Regions from separate parts of the Homo sapiens genome. Here region 2 is linked to region 1. Evidence: promoter capture Hi-C in 16 types of primary human blood cells and fetal thymus (Javierre and others, 2016). All regions are on one chromosome and are shown on one strand. Each heading gives the region's core, a stretch centred on a gene start or on the middle of the fragment in contact. The rest is flanking DNA. Distances are from core to core; before and after follow the strand shown. Region 1 holds the start of KLF16 (KLF transcription factor 16). Region 2 holds the start of MEX3D (mex-3 RNA binding family member D).

Evidence for each region. Contacts are between HindIII fragments. The CHiCAGO score rates a contact against its expected background, and 5 or more counts as called.
Region 2: the fragment with the promoter of MEX3D here is called in contact with the fragment with the promoter of KLF16 in region 1 in 3 of 17 cell types (endothelial precursors, total B cells and naive CD4 T cells); the score reaches 5.9 in endothelial precursors.

The regions. Positions count from the first base shown.
Region 1 is chr19:1,861,524-1,867,070 of GRCh38, reverse strand. It overlaps KLF16 (KLF transcription factor 16), which reads left to right and starts at 3,492. Exons shown (of 2, transcript NM_031918.4): 1 at 3,492-4,030. The coding sequence starts at 3,574. RefSeq lists enhancers at 1,402-1,956, 5,064-5,547, silencers at 2,130-2,349, 2,420-3,519, 3,850-4,029, 4,080-4,249 and a promoter at 2,399-3,603. The HindIII fragment of the contact is 13,147 bases long and covers 1-5,547 here.
Region 2 is chr19:1,565,526-1,571,079 of GRCh38, reverse strand. It overlaps MEX3D (mex-3 RNA binding family member D), which reads left to right and starts at 2,755. Exons shown (of 2, transcript NM_203304.4): 1 at 2,755-3,616. The coding sequence starts at 3,022. It also overlaps the pseudogene RN7SL477P. RefSeq lists silencers at 2,476-2,525, 2,566-2,755. The HindIII fragment of the contact is 12,069 bases long and covers 1-5,554 here.

The sequences.
Region 1 (5,547 bases), core at 2,243-4,742:
GTCTGTCCCCTGCTGAGCTTTGCTCCATAGCCCTCAGGCTTGGGAGGTCCATCTTTGGGGCTGGGAGGAGCTGTCCCCCTGATCCTCTTGGGCGCTGTCAGGGAAGGGTAGAGGTGAGCCCCCATTTATAGGTGAGGAACAGGTTTGAAGAAAGAAGGGGCTGAGTTATGGATGCCCCAAAGTGTCTGCTGCCTCTTAGCTGTGAGCAGGAGCCGGCTGTTCTCGGTCCTCTCCCAGTCTTGATTTTTTCATCTGTAGAATGGGAATGACAACTCCTTTTTTTTTTTTTTTTTTTGAGACAGGGTCCCACTCTGTCACCCAGGCTGGAGTGCAGTGGTGCAGTCACAGCTCACTGCAGCCTTGACCTCCTGGGCTCAAGCGACCCTTCCACCTTAGCCTCCTGAGTAGCTGGGACTACAGGTGTGAGGCCACTGCGCCCGCTAATTTTTTTTTTTTTTGAGACAGTTTCTCTCTTGTCACCCAGGCTGGAGTGCAGTGGCACGATCTCGGCTCACTGCAACCTCCGCCTCCTGGGTTCAAGCGATTCTCCTACCCCAGCCTCCTGAGTAGCTGGGATTACAGGCATGCGCCACCAGGCCCGGCTAATTTTTTTTGTATTTTTAGTAGAGACGGGGTTTCTTCATATTGGTCAGGCTGGTCTCGAACTCTCGACCTCAGGTCATCCGCCTGCCTCGGCCTCCCAAAGTGCTGGGATTACAGGCGTGAGCCACCATGACTGGCCTCCAGCTAATTTTTTTTTTTGAGATGGAGTTTTTGCTCTTGTCGCCCAGGTTGAAGTACAATGTTCGATCTCAACTCACTGCAACCTCCACCTCCCAGATTCAAGCGATTCTCCTGCCTCAGCCTTCTGAGTAGCTGGGATTACAGGTGCCCACCACCTGGCCCGGCTAATTTTTTCTTGTATTTTTAGTAGAGACGGGATTTCACCACATTGGCCAGGCTAGTCTCGAACTCCTGACCTCAGGTGATCTGCCAGCCTTGGCCTCCCAAAGTGCTGGGATTACAGGCGTGAGCCACTGCACCCGGCCTGCAGCTCATTTTTTAATGTGGAGAGTTGGGGGTTTCATTACGTTGCCCCGGCTGGTCTTGAACTGATAGCTTCAAGTGATCCTCCTACCCTGGTCTCTCAAAGTGCTGGCATTCCAGGCGTGAGCCACCGCACCCGGTGGAGAATTTACAGGGTCATAGAGAGTAAGGAAGAGAGGACAGAGCCCTGTGCCGGGCGCTGCTGGAGGTTTGTCTGTGTTCACCGCAGGGGTCATGGGTTGCCTGAGTGTTCCTGGGGCTTAGGGGTGTGAATAGAAGCCTCATGGGTGGGGTGTGGGCTGTGTGCCCTCACCTGGGGTCTCCTGCCTGTGGAGTGGCTGGCATGACCTGCAGATGAGGCCACTCACTTGAAACCCTGATAATGGCTGGAGTGGGCAGACAATGGAGTCTCACAGTGAAGGTCCTGCCTGGGGCCATGTGGCCCACCCCTGGAGGCTGCTCACCCCTGCCCCCCATCGTTAGCCTCCCAGTTACAACTGTAAGCCCCTTGAGGGCAGGGCTGGTTGGTTCTGCTCTAAGCCCAGGAAACATCAGTGGAAGACGCATGGTTGGGTGTGGACCCTGAGGCCTCAAGACACACCTGTCCACAAGCCAATGCGGGGTTCCAGGACCCTGGGGGCTGCTGGGATGGTGGGGACCTGGGGGACCTGCCCAAGTGGCCCATCGTCCTAGAAGTTCAAAGACAACAGAGGCCCAGCAGGAGCAGGAACGCCGACCCCCAGCGCCCACCGAATGGTAGGGGTGCAGAGAGGGCTCTGGAGCCCAGGCCTAGGAGAGGGGCAAGTGTGTGCAGGGCACCCTGTACCCTCCCACACTTCGCTGAACCTCCTCTCTCTCGGCTCCGCTCTGTCCAGCCACGTAGAGTGGGCTTACTGGGGCCCAGGGAGGGCTCAGCTGGCTTAACCAAGCATGGTTGAGCCCAGGCGCAGTGCGGGCGACCCAGGGAACAGTGGTCAGCCTCAGGGCGTCAGCTGGGGTTGCAGGTGGGCGGGGGATGGGGCTAGAGAAGCCCCGAATCGGGTCAGGGCCTCTGTCCATGCCCAACCCAGAGCAGGAGGTCGCCGCAGGCCAAAGCAGCTCCGCCCCCTGGAGGCAGCTCCGGCCACTGCGCAGTCCCCGCCGCCCCGCCGGAGCTGGGAAGGGGCGGGAGCGCGGTCGCGACCGAGGGGGGCCGCCCAGTTTCTGTGCCCCCGCCGCCTTGGGCCTGCGAACTGGGCCATCCGCGTCCCTGGTGTCCCCCCTAATATTTAACAAGTTGGCCTGGACGTCCTCGCGGCCGGGAGGCCCGAATACCTGGCCTCAGTTTTCCCGTCCGAACCCCAAGAATCGATGCCTGGGAATGGAAAGAGAAGCCCCGGACCCCGGTGTCCCAGCAGGGCGGGGAACCTCTGACCCGCTCAGGCGCCCCCAGCCCAGCCCAGCCCTTTGCGTTCGGCCCCCTCTTCCCGTCCCCCTATCCCGACCCTCTGGGACCCAACCGGCCCTCCCCACCCCCAGTGGGGCGCGCTCTAGTAGCTCCGGAACTGGGTGCAAAAAGAGGAACGAACGCAGCCTTGCCCCACCCTCCCGGGCCCCGCCGCGGGCGCGGGATACCGGGTGTCTCGGCCGGGAGGCTCCGAGGGGCTCTGTGAGCGGCGAGGGGGAACCCCAGAGAAGAGGACGAGCAGATGCCTGAGTGCGGGGTCAAAGCAGGGCCCCAGGCCGGGAGAAGAGGGGGGAAGGGTCGCGCACGTGGCCTGGGGGCGGGGCCGGCCGCTTCCGCACCCCTCCAACCCCGGCCACGTGGGGATCGGAGCCCTCCTCCATCGCGAACGGGGGCGCGCCCGGGGCCAGGAGGGAAGCATCCGGGGAGGGGGCGGGCTCCCGCCGGCCGCGCGCCCCGGCGTGGGGTGGGCGCGCCAGCGAGGAGGCGGGGCGCGCTCTGGGAGGGAGGGGCGTGCCGGGATGGGGCGGGGCGCGCTCTCGGAAGGAGGGGCGTGCCGGAGAGGGGGCGGGGTCCTCGGCCTCCCGCCCCGGCTTGAGGGGGTGGTGCTCCGGGAAAGGGTACGGGGGCGCGCGCTGGAGTGGGGCGCGCCGGGAGGGGGCGGGGCTCCCGGCCTTGCACCCTAGCGCGGAGAAGGCGCGCTCCGGGCCTAAGACGCTAGGCGCTGGCGGAGGCCGGAGTGGGCGCGCCGGGGGGCGGGTTCCTCCGGCCCGAGCCCCGCCCCCGGCGGCCGCGCGCGGCTCGGAGAGTGGTGGAGGGCGCGCCGGGCGGGGGGCGTGGCTGCGGCGCCCCGAGGGGGCGTCCTCCGGGCGGGGCGGGCTGTGGCCGCCCCCGCGGGCTCCGGTGCGTCAGGACGCGTCAGGCGGGGCGGGGCAGGCCGAGCGCGGGCGTCGGCGGCGGCGCGCGCCGGGCCTCCTCCTCCTCCTCCTCCGCCTCCCGCACTCGAGCAGCCGCCGCCGGCCGGACGGACGCCGCTCCCGCCGCCTCCGCTCCGCCCGCCGCGCCGCGCGCCCTTGCTCGGCATGTCGGCGGCCGTGGCGTGCGTGGATTACTTCGCCGCCGACGTGCTCATGGCCATCTCTTCGGGCGCCGTGGTGCACCGCGGGCGGCCCGGCCCCGAGGGCGCGGGCCCCGCCGCCGGCCTGGATGTGCGCGCGGCGCGCCGCGAGGCCGCCTCACCCGGGACCCCGGGGCCACCCCCGCCGCCCCCCGCCGCTTCTGGCCCGGGCCCCGGCGCCGCCGCGGCGCCCCACCTGCTGGCCGCCAGCATCCTGGCCGACCTGCGCGGCGGACCCGGAGCCGCCCCGGGGGGCGCCTCGCCCGCCTCCTCCTCCTCAGCCGCCTCGTCCCCGTCCTCGGGCCGCGCCCCCGGCGCCGCGCCCTCCGCCGCCGCCAAGAGCCACCGCTGTCCCTTCCCGGACTGCGCCAAAGCCTACTACAAGTCCTCGCACCTAAAGTCGCACCTGCGGACGCACACAGGTGAGTGCAGCCGCGATCCCGGCCCTTGCGGGGGCGGCCGCCTGAGACCCCTCCCCCGCCAGGACCCCGAAACTGCGTGGCGCGTGGGGGGCGGGGAGGGGGGCGCGCCCGGGCCGCCGCCGCGCCGGCCGGCAGGGCGGGGCCTCGGTGGGTGGGGCGCGCGCGGGGGGCGTGGCGGCCACGCGGTCGGGCGGCGAGCGGATGGCCGCCCCGGCGGCAGTGGCGGGGGCTCCGGGGGCCCAGCGAGGTCTGCGGGCGGGATTGAGACTCCTGGGCAGACCACCTCTCTCCCTTTCTGGGCCTTGTTCCGTTTTTTTTTTTTTCTTTTGCGTTCTGGTCTGGGCGGTGGGCACCGTGGTTGGAGCATCCGGCTCTGGGGTTCTGGGTTCTCCCCCTCCCCCAGCCTCAGTTTCCTTATCTGTGAAAATGGAGGAGGAACCGCGTCGCCGCCGCCGGGGTGGCCGCGCGGATTCTCCCCAGAGGTCGGCAGAGCACCTGGCGTGGGGCCAGGATGGGGGGAGCCCGGCACGTTTTCTCTGCGTTCTCTGTATTTTAACGAGGGGGAGGGCGAGGCTAGGAGCGCGGGTTGGGGCCTGAGTCTGGGCGGGGGAACTTCATAGTATTGGAGGACCCTCGAGGGGCTCGGGTCCACACTGCTGTATTTCCCTGGCGTGTTTGTTCACCCCTACCTGGCGGGCGATTCGGGAAGGTGCGCGTAGTTGGAGCGCTTCGGCTACACCAACGCCCCTCCTAGCGCAGTCCCCGGGGCGGCGAGGGGAACCGGGAGCCTGGTGGGCCTGGCTGTATTTTTTCACTCCGTCCCCTCCTAGGGTTCCACTTTCTGGACTGGGAGTTTGGACTGGGCAACAGGGGACGGTGGGCCTTGATGGCCGGCCCTGGTTTGGGCATTAGAGGTGCTTGTCCCTTCCGGGGAGGGTGGGGGGCTGGGGGAAAGCTGTGCGGCTGCCCTTGGGCTTGGCATTCTGGCCTTGCCACCAAACAGAAGACCTCTACCCGATCTGGGTCTCAATTTTCTCATTTCTATCAAGAGTGCGATGCTGCCTCTATTTCATAGCCATAGCGGTGGCCGCTTTGGGCAGCTGGACACTCCAAGGAGGCTTGGTCCGTGGGCTCGGATTGTAGGGACACGTGGAGCAGCCGAAGGGAAGTGGGCCGTCCAGAGTGGTGGGGCTGAGATGAGCAGGGGCCGCGAATGCCTTGCGGAAGAATTGAGGGTCCATCTTTGGGGTATGGGGAGCCGCGCTGGGACGCCTGAGGGTGGAGAGCAGGAGGGCGGGTGGGGGCGGTGGTGTGTAGCCTGCCGGCCGCCCCCTCTCTGTTCTGCACTCTTTTCACCCCTCGCTCAGTCCCTGTCCTGGTCCCAGGGGCCTGGAGGCTCTGCCCACCTTGAGACACAGACGGGAACCGAGGGCGTCAAGACAGGACTTGGGTGGGGTCTGCGTTTTCTGCGAGGAGCCACACATCCTCGGCGGAGGGGTCCCAGGGTGTTACCTCTT
Region 2 (5,554 bases), core at 1,506-4,005, 300 kb after region 1:
CTGCCTTGGACTTCCAAAGTGCTGGGAAGACAGGCGTGAGCCACCGCGCCCGGCGCCCGGCTGACAATGCCATTAATAATTGCAAGTGGCTGGGCATAGTGTTACCCACCTGTAGTCCCAGCAGTTTGGGAGGCTGAGGCAGGAGGATTGCTTGAGGTTAGGAGTTCAAGACTAGCCCGGGCAACAAAAAGGACCCTGTCTCTACAAATACAAAAAGTAGCCCGGTGTGGTGGTGCACACCTGTGGTCCCAGCTACTCAGGAGGCTGAGGCGGGAGGATTGCTTGAGCTCGGGAGTTCTGAGCTGTAGTGAGCTATGCTGATCCAGCGTCTACATTAATATGATGACCTCCCTGGACTGGGAGGACCACCAGGTTGCCTAAGGAGGGCTGAACCTACCCAAGTCAGAGACGGAGCTGGTCAAAGCTCTCATGCTGATCTGTCCTGGGGTCACACCTGTGAATAGCCACTGCACCCCAGCCTGGGCAACAGAGCAAGACTCTGTCCGAAAAAGAAAGAAAAGGAAAGGAGAGGAGAGGGGAGGGGAGCAGAGAAGGAAGGGAGAATCCTGGTTGATACGGTGAAACCCTGTCTCTACAAAAAATACAAAAAATTAGCTGGGTGTGGCGTCAGGCACCTGTAGTCCCAGCCACTCGGGAGGCTGAGACAGGAGAATGGCGTGAACCCAGAGGCGGAGCTTGCAGTGAGCCAAGACTGCACCACTGCACTCCAACCTGGGTGACAGAGCGAGACTCCGTCTAAAAAAAAAAAAAGAAAGAAAGAAGGAAGGAAGGAAGGAAGGGAGAGAAAAGAAGAAATGAAGAACGAAATAAAGGATGAAAGAAAAGGAAGGAAGCAAGGAAGGAAGGAGAAGAAAGAAAAGAAAGAAGGAAAGAAAGACAGAAAAAAGAAAAGGAAGAGAAAGAAAAAAAGGAAAGAAAGAAAAGGAAAAGAAAAAAGAGAAAGAAAGGAAAGAGAAAGAAAGAAAAAGAAAAGAAAGAAAGGAAGAAAGAAAGAAAAAAAGGAAAGAAAGAGAAAAAAAGAAAGAGAGAAAGAAAGAGAGATAGAAAAACAATTCCAAGCATGGGCGTGCACGAAAGAGAAGTCCAGGACCCCAGGAGGGGAAGTGGGGCTGGATGCAGCCTGGGGTCAGGAGAGAGATTTTGGGTGGGGAAGGGCTCCAGGCAGGGGGATCCTGACCCTGCCTGCCTGGAAGAAGTGGGCAGAGAAGCCACCAAAAGTGAAGGGCCCAGCAGTGGGTGGCTGTGGCTGAGGGACTAGAAGAGTGGCTGAGGGGGACCCAGGGTGTGTGAGGCGGGGGGAGGGGACAGAGGAGAAGCCTTGCTAGGCAAAGGGGCAGGCTGCCCCACTCCTGCCCAGAGAGCCCTGCCTTCGGTCCAAGTTTGCACAGCCAGCCAGGGACAGGTCTGGTAGAAGAGGGGGGCAGGTAGACCCAGCCAGACAGGTTTATCACAAAAAACCCCACAGGTGCAAGGAAGGCCCCGAAGGACAGCTGGAGGAAGAGCCGCTGGGAAAGCGGCTATTTTTTTTTTTTTTTTTTTTTTTTGAGAGGAGTCTTGCTCTGTCAACCAGGCTGGAGTGCAGTGGTGCAATCTCGACTCACTGCAACCACCACCTCCAGGGTTCAAGCAATTATCCTGCCTCAGCTTCCTGAGTAGCTGGGATTACAGGTGCGCGCCACCACGCCTGGCTAATTTTTGTATTTTTAGTAGAGTCGGGGGTTTCACCATGTTGGCCAGGCTGGTCTCTAACTCCTGACCTCGTGATCCACCCGCCTCGGCCTCCCAAACTGCTGGGATGACAGGCATGAGCCACCGCGCCCGGCAAGGGTGGCTTTAGAGGTGGACAACGCCCGTTGCGGGGAAAGGCACCCCAGAAGAGGGTGGGGCTCCACATGGAGGGTTCTGGCTGGTGTGAGCCTGCCCTCGCCATGGAAGCACCACTGTGGTAGAGAGGTCTCTGGCTGGGGGCACAGAGACCGGGTCTGTGGCCTTGGGTGGGGCGGAGGAGGTGGCGTGGAGGAGGTGGCCTGATCCCAAAGCCGGGAGCCAGCCAGAGGGGAGCTAGGAGAGACTAGGGGAGAGGGACCTCAGGCCCTGGGGTGTGCATGATTGTGGAGCTGTCCCTGGCACAGAGGCTGGGGGTGGGGCAGGGGCCTGACCCTAAAGCCCACCTGATAGCAAGGGGTACTTGGGGACTGGGACCCCAGGCCCTGGGGGGTGCACCGTGGGGCGGGGGTTGGACCCTGGCACAGAGGCGGTGGGCGGGCAGGAGCCTGACTTCGAAGTCCAGTGGGATCGCGAGGGGGACTTGGAGAGGACCCCACGCCTTTATGCAGGGAGGTGGGGGTCCCTGGCACAAGGAAGCGGGCGTGGAGCAAGAGACCTCGCTTGGGGGCGACCCGGATCTCTAGGGGAAATTGGGGAGCGGGACCTCGGGCCCTGGGGCGCGCGAGGCAGGGACTCTCAGGCTTGGGGAGGGAGCGCTGTCCAGGCAGGGGCTGAGCCGCACACACCTGCAGCAGCGCCCGCACGTGCGGATGCGCCCGGGTTCCCGCCCGAGCGCCGGGCGGAGGCGGGGCCTGGACCACGTGCCCGGCGCCGGCCCCGCCCCGGCCCCGCCCCGCGCGCCTGCGCCCTGGGGGCCGCCCATTGTTGGGCCGCGGCGTGACGTCGCGGGGGCGGGGCCGGGGCGGGGCCGCGGGAGGCGGCGGGAGGGAAGGAGCGTCCCGCGCCGCCGCCGCCGCCTCGGCCGCCGAGGAGCCGCCGCCGCCGTCGCCGCCGCCGCCGAGCCGCAGCCAGAGTCGCTGCCGCCGCCCGGCCCGGCCCGGCCCGGCCCCGAGCAGCCCCGCGCCGCCGCCGCCCCGCCCGCCCGGCCCCCCGTGCCCGCCCCCGCCGCTGGATGCAGGCGGCCGGCGGCCCAGCTCGCAGAGGCGGAGGGCGGCGCGGGCGGCGGCGGCGGCGCGGGCGGCAGGAGCGCGGGCCCCAGCGCTAGCTCCCGCCATGCCCAGCTCGCTCGGCCAGCCCGACGGCGGCGGGGGCGGGGGCGGCGGCGGCGGCGGCGTGGGGGCGGCGGGGGAGGACCCCGGACCCGGACCTGCGCCCCCGCCCGAGGGCGCCCAGGAGGCCGCGCCCGCGCCCCGGCCGCCGCCCGAACCCGACGACGCGGCCGCCGCGCTCCGCCTGGCGCTGGACCAGCTGTCGGCGCTCGGGCTGGGGGGCGCTGGCGACACGGACGAGGAGGGGGCGGCCGGGGACGGCGCAGCGGCGGCGGGGGGCGCGGACGGCGGGGCGGCTCCGGAGCCTGTGCCCCCCGACGGACCTGAGGCCGGCGCGCCCCCGACCCTGGCCCCCGCCGTGGCCCCCGGGTCGCTGCCGCTGCTGGACCCCAACGCGAGTCCCCCGCCGCCGCCGCCGCCCCGGCCGTCGCCCCCCGACGTGTTCGCGGGCTTCGCGCCCCACCCCGCGGCCCTGGGGCCCCCGACGCTGCTGGCCGACCAGATGAGCGTGATCGGCAGCCGCAAGAAAAGCGTCAACATGACCGAGTGCGTCCCGGTGCCCAGCTCCGAGCACGTCGCCGAGATCGTGGGTCGCCAGGGTGAGTGGCCCTCGTCGGGGGTTGCTGTCCTGGGGGTCCCCGCACCGTCCGCCCCGGGGAAGGGGGTCGCCCGAGCCCAGCCCAGCCCGCGCCGGACGCCCCGCACCGGACACGCCCCGCGTGGGCTCCGGCCTCGGCCGCTGCCTTTGCGCCTTTGTCCTGCAGCCGCCGCGGGAGAAAGTTGGGCGCAGCCCGCGCTCCTCCCCTGCGCGCTCCGGCCCCGCCGCCGCCTTTGTCTGGGCCGCCTCCAGCCCGGAAAGGCTCCGGGGAGCCGCGCCGCAGCCCAGGCCCTCGGCCGCCCGCAGGGGCACCCCAGAGAGGGGCTCGAGGGCCCGGGGCTCCGGCCGGGCGGGGGGCGCCCCACACCCAGCACAGGCGGCGGGGCGGGGCAAGCGCAGGTTTAGGGGTGGCTTAGGGGGGCCGCCTGCAGGACCGGGAGAGAAGGCTGACAGTACAAAGAGCGCACGTCTCAGTCTCCAGCCTGGGGCCCTGACTGGGGTGGGGACGGGACCGGGCAGGAGAGGGTCCCTGCTCCACTCTCTGGCCCCGAGTCAGGGATTTCGGGGCCTGGGGAAGGACCGGCTGTCAAAGCCACTTCTGGGGTGCAGCCTGCTGGGCAGGCCGGCGGGCGGCAGGCCCCGGGTGTGGGGTCCAGCGGTGGCATCGTCGGAGCTTCCCTCTGGCCGCCCCATTGTTCTCTTTGTTAGAGAGCGAGGCTGAGATTTGCAGGGTGACATCAGGCCGGCCGCTGCTCATTGGCCCCCGAGCTGCGGGGCGGGCGGGCGGGTGGTGGGCAGTGCCTGGCCCAGCTCACACCCACCACCCCGTTAGCCACCCGCCCGCCTGCCTCCCTCAACTTTCTCCTGCCTTCCCGCCACCCCTCCCCGCTCCTGGGTCCCCGCTGACCGCCAGTGATCAGCCAGGTTCTAGAACTTGGGGTGGGGCCTTGGCGGGGCTGGTGGTGGGGCCGCAGGACACTTGGGCTGGGGGTCCCTGCCTCCCCGGGGCCCTCGGGAATCCAGGCCAGAGAAAGGTGTGGGGGGCTGGGATTGCAAGGTCATCTATGGCCCTGGCCTCAGGCGGGGGACCACCAGGGCGCCCTCCCCTCCGCCCTTTCCCTCGGTCCAGGTGGGTGGGGCACCACAGCCTCCTGTCTTTTGGTCGTTCATTTGTCCAGCTCATGTGGGGACCCACGGAGGGTCAGGCATGGTGCTGGCCCCAGGAAGCATGCTCTGGAGTGGTGGGTGGGGAGGGACTGGGTTCTGTCTCAGTCCTGCTGGCTGCCCTTGGTGGGACCCCCTGGCAGGAGGGCGCCCTACCATCCTGTTACTGCCTCCCCATTGAGGCCTTCCACCCGGCCTCCATGTCCCATACCCAGGGCCTAGAACGGGACAGCTGCCCTGTGCGGAGTGTCTGGGAGCCTGTGGAGACAGGCGTCCAAGCCGAGGCCTGGGGACCAAGTGACCAAAGGCACGAGCCTGAGCCTCCAGGTGGTGGAGGCTGTGGCTGTGTTCTTTGTGAACGCGCTTGTCCTGGCACCCAAGGGCCTTTGAGCGAGGCTATGGCCACATGGGGAGCTGGCAGGAATCAGCGTCAGGCTGAGAGCTTCTAGACCTGTGGCCTCAGGGTGGGAATTCTCTAGGGGCAGGTCCATGGGAAATGGAGTCTGTGGGCACCAGGCTCAGCCCCCACCTCTGGCCTGTGCGTTCTGCACCCACTTACTGGGCTCTTGCTGGTGGCCGTCAGCAAGGCAGGCCCTGGGGTACAGTGGGGGTCGGGGGTAGAGTGGGCCCTGATTGCTTGTCCTGCAGGCCGCCGTGGCCCTGCGCAGATGACGGCCCCTCTCTGTGATGTGCGGACGTCTCACCTCCATTAGGGTAGAGGATTCTGGGGCAAGATGCTGGTTTTATTTATTTATTTATGAGACGGAGTTTCGCT